3 separate regions of the Homo sapiens genome follow, and all the other regions are linked to region 2. The links are contacts of gene promoters, found by promoter capture Hi-C in blood cells and fetal thymus (Javierre and others, 2016). All regions are on one chromosome and are shown on one strand. The core of a region is centred on a gene start or on the middle of the fragment in contact, and the rest is flanking DNA. Distances in the headings are between cores, read along the strand shown.

Region 1 (2,992 bases), core at 336-2,835, 540 kb after region 2:
GAGCCCATGGGCAACCATCAGGGAGAAGGAGATGGTTGGGGCTTGCTGGGAACCTGGGCTGGGAATGAAGCATCTTCTCCACAGAAGGCAAGACCCCACCATACCTCCCCTGTGCAACTCAGGGGCAGGAGCCAGACAAGGCAAATCTAGCCAGGAAACGACCTGGGACCACCTGTTCCCAAAGTGTTACCCCCCTCCCTATCCCCCCCTTGCCCCACTTCCCAAAGATGCCCACCTGCATGGTGATGTTGGACTCCTCAGTGGGCACACACTCCAGGCCCTCGTCATTGCAGCAGCCCCCGCATCGCATCAGGGGCACACAGGATGGCTTGAAGATGTACTCGATCTCATCAGGGTACTCCTGGAAGATGTCCACCAGGGTCTCGATTGGATGGCAGTAGCTGCGCTGATAGACATCCATGAACTTCACCACTGCATGAGAGGCGATGACACATGAGCCCGGTGGGCGACACAAAAGATGGCTAGCCCCTCTCTCCACCCAGCTCTGTAATGCCACTCTTTGGAGCTTCCGAATCAGGCAAGTCCTTCCAAAATCTAACGTAAGTCCCTCCTACTGTGTTTGAAGCACTTCCCTAAGCTTTCCACCATCAACACTGGTGAAGGCCTGTTTTCATTCCAGAGATCACACGATGTACTCAAGTTCCAAGGGACATGGCCTGCCACATCTGATCCCGCCACCTCACTGTGACAGCTGAACTGAATCCTGGGCCAACCTCGATGCCAGAGGACAGTCTGAGTATGGGTATACCCCATGGGGATGCTCTAAGCTTTCCCTAAAAGGAGGAAGAGCCAGCTTTGCCAAGCTAGTCTCCAGTTTCCTACGTCCTCCCCACAACCACTACCATAACGTCAACCATACCAACAGCTGTTTATTGAGCACTTACTACATCCTGAGTACTGTGTACAGTAGTCCACAGCTATCATTTCACACAAGTTTCTCCACATGGTACTATTAGACACTATTGAGATTCCATTTTACAGATGGGGAACAGGAGGCTCAAAGAGGCTAAGTAAGTTGCCCCAAGGCCGCACAGCTAGTAAGTAAAGGAGTCAGAATTAGCTGACATCAAAGTGTTCCCAAGCCTATATTAGGCAAAAACAGAGGAGGCACCTTTCAGGAGGAGGCACCTTTCCCCCTGCCAGTCCTCTTCCCCAGACATGAGCTGAGAAGGTGGTGGGCATCAGCACAGGGGCTGGGCCCTCCTGGAACCCACAGGTGGCAGTGGGCGGACACGCTGTGCCAGCCCTGCCAGCCACTGATAACCCCGCCCAAGAGGGCAAACTGCTTGCATCATGGAAAAAACAGTGCTGCCACTGTAGCCACGAAACATTTCTAGAAGCTGATCTGAAGGGAGACCAGGGTAGAGACAGTTTCCCAGGCTGGCCACGAAGCCTGGGGTGCACTGGAGCATGAAGGGGTAATTCTGGGCCACAGAGGCGGGGCCCTTGAGAATAAATAAATGCAGGACTCTGGCATGACTACTCCAAATTGTGGCCCAGCCTGCCACGCCTATCGCACCCCACCACCACTACCACATAGCAATCCTGTCCCTGAAATAGGTTCCCTACCCAGAGGGAAGAAATAACACCTGGCCAGTGAGGAGGCCCAGGCTCTGGCCATGAGTTGGTATGACCTTGGGCCAGTCCCTCCCCTCTCTAGGCCTCCAACTCTGCTCAACTGTGTAAGTGGGTTGGGCTGATCTCTAAAGATGCTGAAACAGGCTGAAAAAGGTGGTGTTTTGGCTTCCATTTCCAGCCCTAGGAACAAGTGCTCTTTTTTCAGCCTGGGTAATATGAAGTTTAGAACTTCACCAAAGCATCTTAAGTGTATGCTTCGTGGACTTCCACCCCAGCTCCCAACCCCCACCCCCCAGAGACCACAGCTGAGCCTCCCCCTCACTCCTCCCTCCAAGGTCTGCTTTCCAGAAGAATAAAGGACAATGAGGGGGGCTATGTACACAATAGGTTGATTGGGAAGAAGGTGGGGAGAAGGCCACAGGTGTGAAAACAGAAAGAACAGTGGGGAAACAGGCCAGTCCACTGCTTCCTGTGAGGTCTCTATTTCTTTTATCCAGACCACCAATGGGCACAGAATCCTTCTCTACCCACGAAGGGTTACGGCAAAGCATCATCAAAAAGAGTGAACGAGACTAGAAGTCTGAAAAGGTCATTTTTTAAAGCCAAGTCGATAGGGGAGAAGATGACTAATCAAGAAGTTTTGAACTGCCCCTTCATCACAATTGGGACAGAGGAGGGCCAGGCTTGTGGCCCAGGAGGGGATAGCAGGAAGGTCTGGCCTGGGCAAGGGGTTGGTAACTGAGGGTAAAAAGACCTGGGGTAGGAATTCCCCCAAAAAGCTTCCCCTTGGAATGAATCCCCAAGTCCCATGGGAGGTGGAGGCGGGGAACCTCACCCGCATCCTTCATCAGGCAGCCGCCCCTCCAAGGAGGGCTGGCCTCCACTGCCTGGGGGAGCACACACGTACACTCCAACAACCAGGCTTTCGTGGTTTTCCTTATTTATCGCAGACAACCTTTTCTCCAGCAAACAAAGACCTTTGTCCTGCCTCTCCCAGACCAGAGACCACTGGGAAGCTGGAAGGGGTAAGTGGCGCACTGGAAGCAGGGGGCCGGTCAGTGGCTGAGAAGCCAGGTCCTAGGCCAAGGAAAGGGCTCCTGGGGTGGGGAAGGAGGAGGCAGAACAGGCTGGGCATCACCACTGCTGGCCACTACCCAGCCACGCCAGATTTAGGTCAGGGAAACTCGCGGGAAGGAAGACCCCAGGGCCTTCCCTCCCCAGAGGTGGAGAGCACAGGCCACAGTCAGTGGTGGGGAGAGCCAGGGTGTCCCCAGAGAAATGGGAGGATCCAAACCACAACGGAACAAAAGGCAGGCGGACTCGGGGTTGGGCAGGGGGGCGGGGCGCCTGGGAGCTACAGCCAGCCCTCTGCTGGCCTGGGAGGGAAGTTCAC
Region 2 (3,149 bases), core at 265-2,764:
AGCTGAGGTCGGGAGTTCAAGACCAGCCTGACCAACATGGAGAAACCCCATCTCTACTAAAAATACAAAATTAGCCGGGCGTGGTGATGCATGCCTGTAATCCCAGCTACTCAGGAGGCTAAGGCAGGATAATTGCTTGAACCCGGGAGACAGAGGTTGCAGAGAGCCGAGATTGTGCTATTGCACGCCAGCACAACAAGAGTGAAACCCCATCTCAAAAAAATAAAAAAGTCATTAATCACACAGAAATCCCCAGCTGGCTTTAGCTTTCTGTTCCAGAAACACTGGAAAAACCAAAACAGGCCAAACACACTTTCAAAACAACACCTTTAATCTATGTGGGCAAAGGGAGAAAAAGGGGATCATGGAATAGGAGTTATAGGTGCTGTCAGAACACAAAGTTAAGAATTTACTATCACTATAGAAATTCAAGTCCAATGTAGATTCCGCAGAGAAACTATGTATACAAAGACCCCAAATAACTTAACACACACAGAATCGTGGCTAAAAGAGACCACCCTGATGGCTAAGGCCTTCTCGGTTATTACACTGACCTCAGCTCTGGAACCTCTATTGAGTTTTAGCTTTGGCAGATTCTCTTCTGTCTTCCCAATCTGTTTAATTTCCCAAGCCAAGGGCATCATGAGAAGCCCCATGAGCACCCTGATTGCATCCACAAGGGCCTGTTGGCTTCAGGGTCACAGCTGTTACTATGGAAAGACAGAAGGGAGAGGTAGAACAGGTATATCTCTTATCCTAAACGAAAACACACAAAACCTTAGGGCATTAGAAGGCTTAGAGAGTGAAATCTCTGCAGCTATTAGCCAACAGCTTCCTCCTGCCTTGACGACCTGGATTCTCTCTGATCCCCAGGCAAATGAGAAGACCAAATGTTAGGCAATTAATAATATAGCAGATGCTGTTTGGCTTCTGTGTTCTCCTATAGACTCCTGCTTCACGGGCAAAAATGGCCGTGTCTGATGCCAAGGTCCAAGGAAACTGGCAAATGCCTAGAACAGTGCCTAGCACATACTAGGTCTTCAATAAATATTTGTTGAATACCTCTTGAATGAATGCTGATACTCCCCTGTCACTCTCTGCCTTCTTCCCTCAGCCTGGAAAAACACACACAAAACACACACACACACACACACACACACACACGAAGTTGAATCCACACCTGTTTATTGCAACCCCATCTGTAACTTTGCAAAACTAATAAGCACAACAGCAATTACTGCTAGAATACGGATTTCAGTGGGCAGGGCATTTTGTCAATTTTGTACCCTAAAAGCCCAAAACAATGCCTAGCACATAGTAGGCTCTCAATGAATATTTGCTTAATGCCGAATGAATTAAGAGCCTACTATGTGCCGGGCGCTGTGCTAGACTCTGCCAGCGACCCAATCGATCGCTTCCACCCCGGCGGCAGAGGCCGCCCCCTGAGTCCTCCTACCGCCAGGGGCCGCTGTAGGAAACGCCTGGCTTCCTTCCCTCGTCACTCTTTGACCACGTAAAGTCACTGCCCGGAGCTACGATGGCAGCGTCAGTGGCAGCTGCAGCCCGGAGGCTGCGGCGGGCCATTCGAAGGTCGCCCGCATGGCGGGGCCTCAGCCATCGGCCGCTCTCATCGGAGCCCCCTGCAGCCAAGGCCTCGGCCGTGAGGGCCGCCTTTCTGAACTTCTTTCGGGACCGCCATGGCCACCGGCTGGTGCCCTCCGCTTCCGTGCGGCCCCGCGGCGACCCCAGTTTGCTTTTTGTCAATGCGGGCATGAACCAGGTGAGGGCCGAACCATACTGATAGGGAGCGGAGTTCGTGAGTTTTCTGGTGAGAAAGACGCTGCAGGATTGGGCAAAAGAAGCGAGAGGCGGAGTTCGTAGCTTTTGGGGAAAGAGGGCGGTGCTTGGTTGGGTAAAGTGATGGGGGTACGGCGCTCAGAGTATAGGGAGGGCTTGGGGAGGGCTTGAGCTGGGAACTTCTGGATTGGGATTGAGTATTAGGTCCAGAAATGGCTGGAGTGGAATCCCGAGGGAGAAGTCTGATTTCATTTATTCGTTATTTAAATAAAGATAACGCTTTCATTAAATGTTTATTGATCACCTATTGTTTGCTGAGTACTATTCTCTAAGGTTTTGGTTTTTATCAACCACTCATCTTTTCTAGACTTCATTGTCCTCATCTGTAAAATAGGGGCGGCATAAGTTAACCTTAGAGGCCGTCTGGGCTCCCTACTAAATGAGTCTCAGTTTTGTTCCCTGAAGTTATTGGGTGTGGTTGAAGAAGCTGAGACGGAGGATGCCACCTTTCAGCGTCCCATTTCCAGCTCCCAACACATTCCTCCTTCTTTTACCTTGCCTATTTTACTAGGCAGAGGGTCTCCGGTTCATGATTTGTTTACCTCTTCTCTGCTCCCCACACACCAGAGATGGCTGTCCCGAGGCTCCCAGTTTGTCCTCATAGACCAAGATTACACTGCACTCTCAGGGGCACAGTCAGCCTTCGGTCTGAACAGCCATCCCTATCCTCACTCCCCACATTTCCCTTCTACTGAGAAATTGGATATCCCTCTCCCCCTCCCCACTCTATGTGCTTCCAGTTCAAGCCAATCTTTCTGGGCACCGTGGATCCACGAAGCGAGATGGCAGGCTTCCGACGTGTGGCCAACAGCCAGAAATGTGTGAGAGCTGGAGGACACCATAACGACCTGGAAGATGTGGGTCGAGACCTTTCCCATCATACCTTCTTTGAAATGCTTGGCAATTGGGCCTTTGGGGGTGAATATTTTAAGGTGAGTCTCTGGGGATCAGTGATCAGCCAAGAAGGGAGTCAATTTGTCCTGTTTCCATTGTACTGTCTGCTTAGGCAGGGCCTCATACCAGATGTGGAGGCAAAGTGCTAGTTGAGCCGGTGTAACAGGAATTACCTCACCTCCCTGATTGGATTGTAAGTCCCTGAAGGGCAGAGACTGTACTTTCTGCCTAATGATCACTCAAAAATTGTTGTTTGAATAAATGGTCAAACAGCAATGCTAAGGTGCTTACTGGAGTTAAAGATCACTCTAGGCTAGAGTAGGCAGAGAATTTCATGTGAAAGTGGGACTTGGTCTGGGACTTGAAAGAAGATAGGACTTAGAAGAAGGGGGAAGCTT
Region 3 (3,288 bases), core at 451-2,950, 740 kb after region 2:
AGTGGAGAGAATACGACAGTGATTCTGCATGTTCCTGTCACCTAAATTCAGCAATCAAAGATTTTACCGCATTTACTTTTTCCACCGCCTATCCTCTCTCCCTGCCTCGAAGGTTTTTAAAAGAAACCCTAGAAATTGTTATTTCACCCCTATGTACGTCAGGGGGATGTCTCTAACAAATAATTTCTTATTCCTTTGTGTCCATTTTTTTCCAACACTAGTAGGGCTACTGTTGGCCGTAGCATGGAAAAAATCTGGAACCATCACGCTGGAAGGAATGTTTATCAGTTCTTTATTCATAATATATATATAATATATACACATAAAATAGAGTGAACACCACTTGGAGGAAATGTTATATATGTGTAACTTTTATATATTTTATATTTTTATTTTTATATTAAATATATATTTTTAAAGCAACTGTGCTTGGAGATCCACATAATATTGATCTAGGTTTTGCAACTTTAAACATATAGCTTAGGTTGGAGTTTCTTTTTGAGTAGGGTCTCACTCTGGTTGTCCAGGCTGGCGTGCAGTGGTGAGATCTCGGCTCACTTCAGCCTTGATTTCTCGAGCTCAAGTGATTCTCCTACCACTTCAGCCTCCTGAGTAGCTGGGATTACAGGCACCTGCCACCATGCCCGGCTAATTTAAAAAAATATTTTTAGTGGGCCGGGCACAGTGGCTCACGCCTGTAATCCCAGCACTTTGGGAGGCCAAGGCAGGTGGGTCACCTGAGGTCAGGAGTTCAAGACCAGCCTGGTCAACATGATGAAACCTTGTTTCTACTAAAAATACAAAAATTAGCTGGGTGTGGTGGCGTGCACTTGTAGTCCCAGCTACATGGGCTCAGGAGGCTGAGGCAGGAGAACTGCTTGAACCTGGGAAGCAGAGGTTGCAGTGAGCCGAGATCATGCCATTGCATTCCAGCCTGGGCGACAGAGTGAGACTCCGTCTCAAAAAAAAAAAAAAAAAATATATATATATATATATATTTAATAGAGATGGGGTTTCGCCATGTTGCCTAGGCTAGTCTCAGACTCCTAGACTCAAGTAGTCCACCCATCTCAGCCTCCCAGAGTGCTGGGACAGGTGTGAGCCACCGCACCCGGCCCTGGTTGGAGTTTCTTAAGATGAAATTCTTTTAGTCCCTATTCTCTCAGCCCTCGAAAGGAAACACTAACTTTTCTTCTTTCAGTTTTGTGAGGAGTTTAAAGAAAAGTGTCCTATCTGTGTCCCCTGTGGCTTGAGGTTGGCTGAGAAAACACAAGTTGCCATCGTCAGACATTTTGGCCTTCAGATCCTGGAACACGTTGTCAAGTAAGGAGCTCTTGGACATTACCACTGAAGTCTGAGAGAACAGATCTTTATATCTTATATAACCTATAGAGATGCTGTTTAGGTGAGTAGAGAAGAGCAATCTCCAAGAAGAGAGGAATGATCCCCTAGATGTTATCAGAACCTCACAGGAGCTCTCATTCAAGATTTAACCTTTCTTTTCTTCAGTTTCTTCATCCATGTAAAGTGTGTGGTACATATTACCCATTCAACAAATATTACCTGCCATTTAGCCAATACTTACTGAGCTCTGACTATATGTCATTAGCCCTCGAAGCCTTTTTAGAGTAATGCAATGTATAGGTCAATGAATCTCTGATTAGGCACTGTGGCTTTCTTTTTTCTCTCTGTCTTTCTGAGTTTGTGTGCCTTCTCTGGGTGGTACATCCAAAGCAGGATTGTATGAGAATAACTGAAAACCCATCCTAACTTGATTGTCCTACCCTCAACACCTATCAGAAGAGGTAGCCTTTAAGACTTAGCCATAGTTTTTCCAGAATTGTTTTGTAAGCCAGCACAGAAAATGACTGATGTCAAAACTGCATTTTCTGAAAAGCAAGTACATTGTTGCAGTTGACCTAGATGTATATTCACTTTTGGCCCATCAATAAAATCATGAGGCAAAGCTGACGTGTGGTACAAATCTTGTGCGGATTCCAGTTAATGGACCACTGCATATATAAAACCTTTTCCCAAGAATTTTTGTGTTAGTATTTTGGTTAAATGTAGATCATTTTTGCCCATTCATTGACAGGTACAAAATCAAAAGTATAATTTCTTAATGAAATCTCCAGTGTAATCAAATGTAGAAATCCATGCTATTCTCTTGTAAAGACAAGACTTCTAAAGTGGTTCTATTGACTTTATGCATTTTGGTGGTCAGGTTTCGGTGGAACGGCATGTCTCGATTGGAGAAGGTGTATCTGAAGAACAGTGTCATGGAGCTGATTGCAAATGTAAGGAATGGGTGGTTGGGAGACATGTTTCCAAGGTAGTTTAGGCAAAGCGTGACTTCTTCAATAGGGAGTTTGTGTAAAAATTCACTGCTTCTAAATAGGTCAGACAGCACAAGAAATCATAATTTAGGCCAGGCACAGTGACTCACACCTGTAATTCTAGCGCTTTGGGAAGCCAAGGTAAGAGGATCACCTGCATCTAAGAATTCGAGAGCAGCTTGGGCAATGCAGTGAGACCCCATCTCTACCAAAAATGCAAAAATTAGCTGAGCGTGGTGGCGCATGCCTGTGGCCCAGCTACTCAGGAGGCTGAGGTGGGAGGATTTTCTGAGCCCAGGAGGTCCAGGCTGCAGTGAGCTGTGATGGTGCCATGGCACTCCAGCCTGTGCAACAGAGCAAGACCCTATCTCAAAAACAAAACAAAACAAAAGCAGAAAGCATAATTCAGCATATGTCTCTTACTAGGTTTAATTAATCATGCTTATGTATTGACTTCTATTTTTTAAATTATAAAGACAGGGCAGAGGGGATTAAATATTTTCAACAAATCAATAAGATTCTTAGATCTAAATTAGATTGAAACACTATTTTCTTTTATTCCAAACAACTACTATGTGATACTAATGATGAAAAACATGCAGAATTTTAAGTATGCAGAATGAATTTGTTTCAAGTATTAGAATATGACTTTTTTTTTTTTTTGAGACAGAGTCTCTGTTGCTCCGGCTGGATTGCATTAGCATGATCATAGCTCACTGCAGCCTCGAACTCCTGGGCTCAAGTGATCTTCTCGCCTTAGCCTCCCAAGTAGCTGGGATTATAGGCATGTGGTACCATGCCCAGCTAATTTTGTTTTTGGTTTTTAGAGAGACAGGGTCTCACTGTGTTTCCCAGGCTAGTCTGGTCTCAAACCCCTGGCCTCAAGCAATCCTCCCACCTTGGCTTTCCAAAATGCTGAGATTACAGGTGTGATGACTGGATGACTGTCTCT

What was found. The method cuts DNA at HindIII sites, captures the fragments that hold promoters and counts their contacts. A CHiCAGO score of 5 or more calls a contact.
Region 1: a contact is called between a fragment that was not itself captured here and the fragment with the promoter of AARS2 in region 2, in 1 of 17 cell types (total B cells). The highest score is 5.1, in total B cells.
Region 3: a fragment that was not itself captured here is called in contact with the fragment with the promoter of AARS2 in region 2 in 1 of 17 cell types (total B cells); the score reaches 5.0 in total B cells.

The regions. Positions count from the first base shown.
Region 1 is chr6:43,774,909-43,777,900 of GRCh38, reverse strand. VEGFA (vascular endothelial growth factor A) reads right to left here. Exons shown (of 8, transcript NM_003376.6): 3 at 236-432. Among named protein-coding and RNA genes, the nearest start is that of VEGFA, 6.2 kb to the right of the region's middle. RefSeq lists an enhancer at 2,855-2,992. The HindIII fragment of the contact is 1,590 bases long and covers 791-2,380 here.
Region 2 is chr6:44,311,712-44,314,860 of GRCh38, reverse strand. It overlaps AARS2 (alanyl-tRNA synthetase 2, mitochondrial), which reads left to right and starts at 1,514. Exons shown (of 22, transcript NM_020745.4): 1 at 1,514-1,780; 2 at 2,598-2,789. The coding sequence starts at 1,538. It overlaps LOC124901322 (a long non-coding RNA gene), which reads right to left. Exons shown (of 3, transcript XR_007059594.1): 3 at 314-710. RefSeq lists an enhancer at 1,210-1,769. The HindIII fragment of the contact is 8,838 bases long and covers 1-3,148 here.
Region 3 is chr6:43,571,515-43,574,802 of GRCh38, reverse strand. It overlaps XPO5 (exportin 5), which reads left to right. Exons shown (of 32, transcript NM_020750.3): 2 at 1,202-1,323; 3 at 2,225-2,297. Among named protein-coding and RNA genes, the nearest start is that of XPO5, 2.9 kb to the left of the region's middle. The HindIII fragment of the contact is 3,844 bases long and covers 1-3,288 here.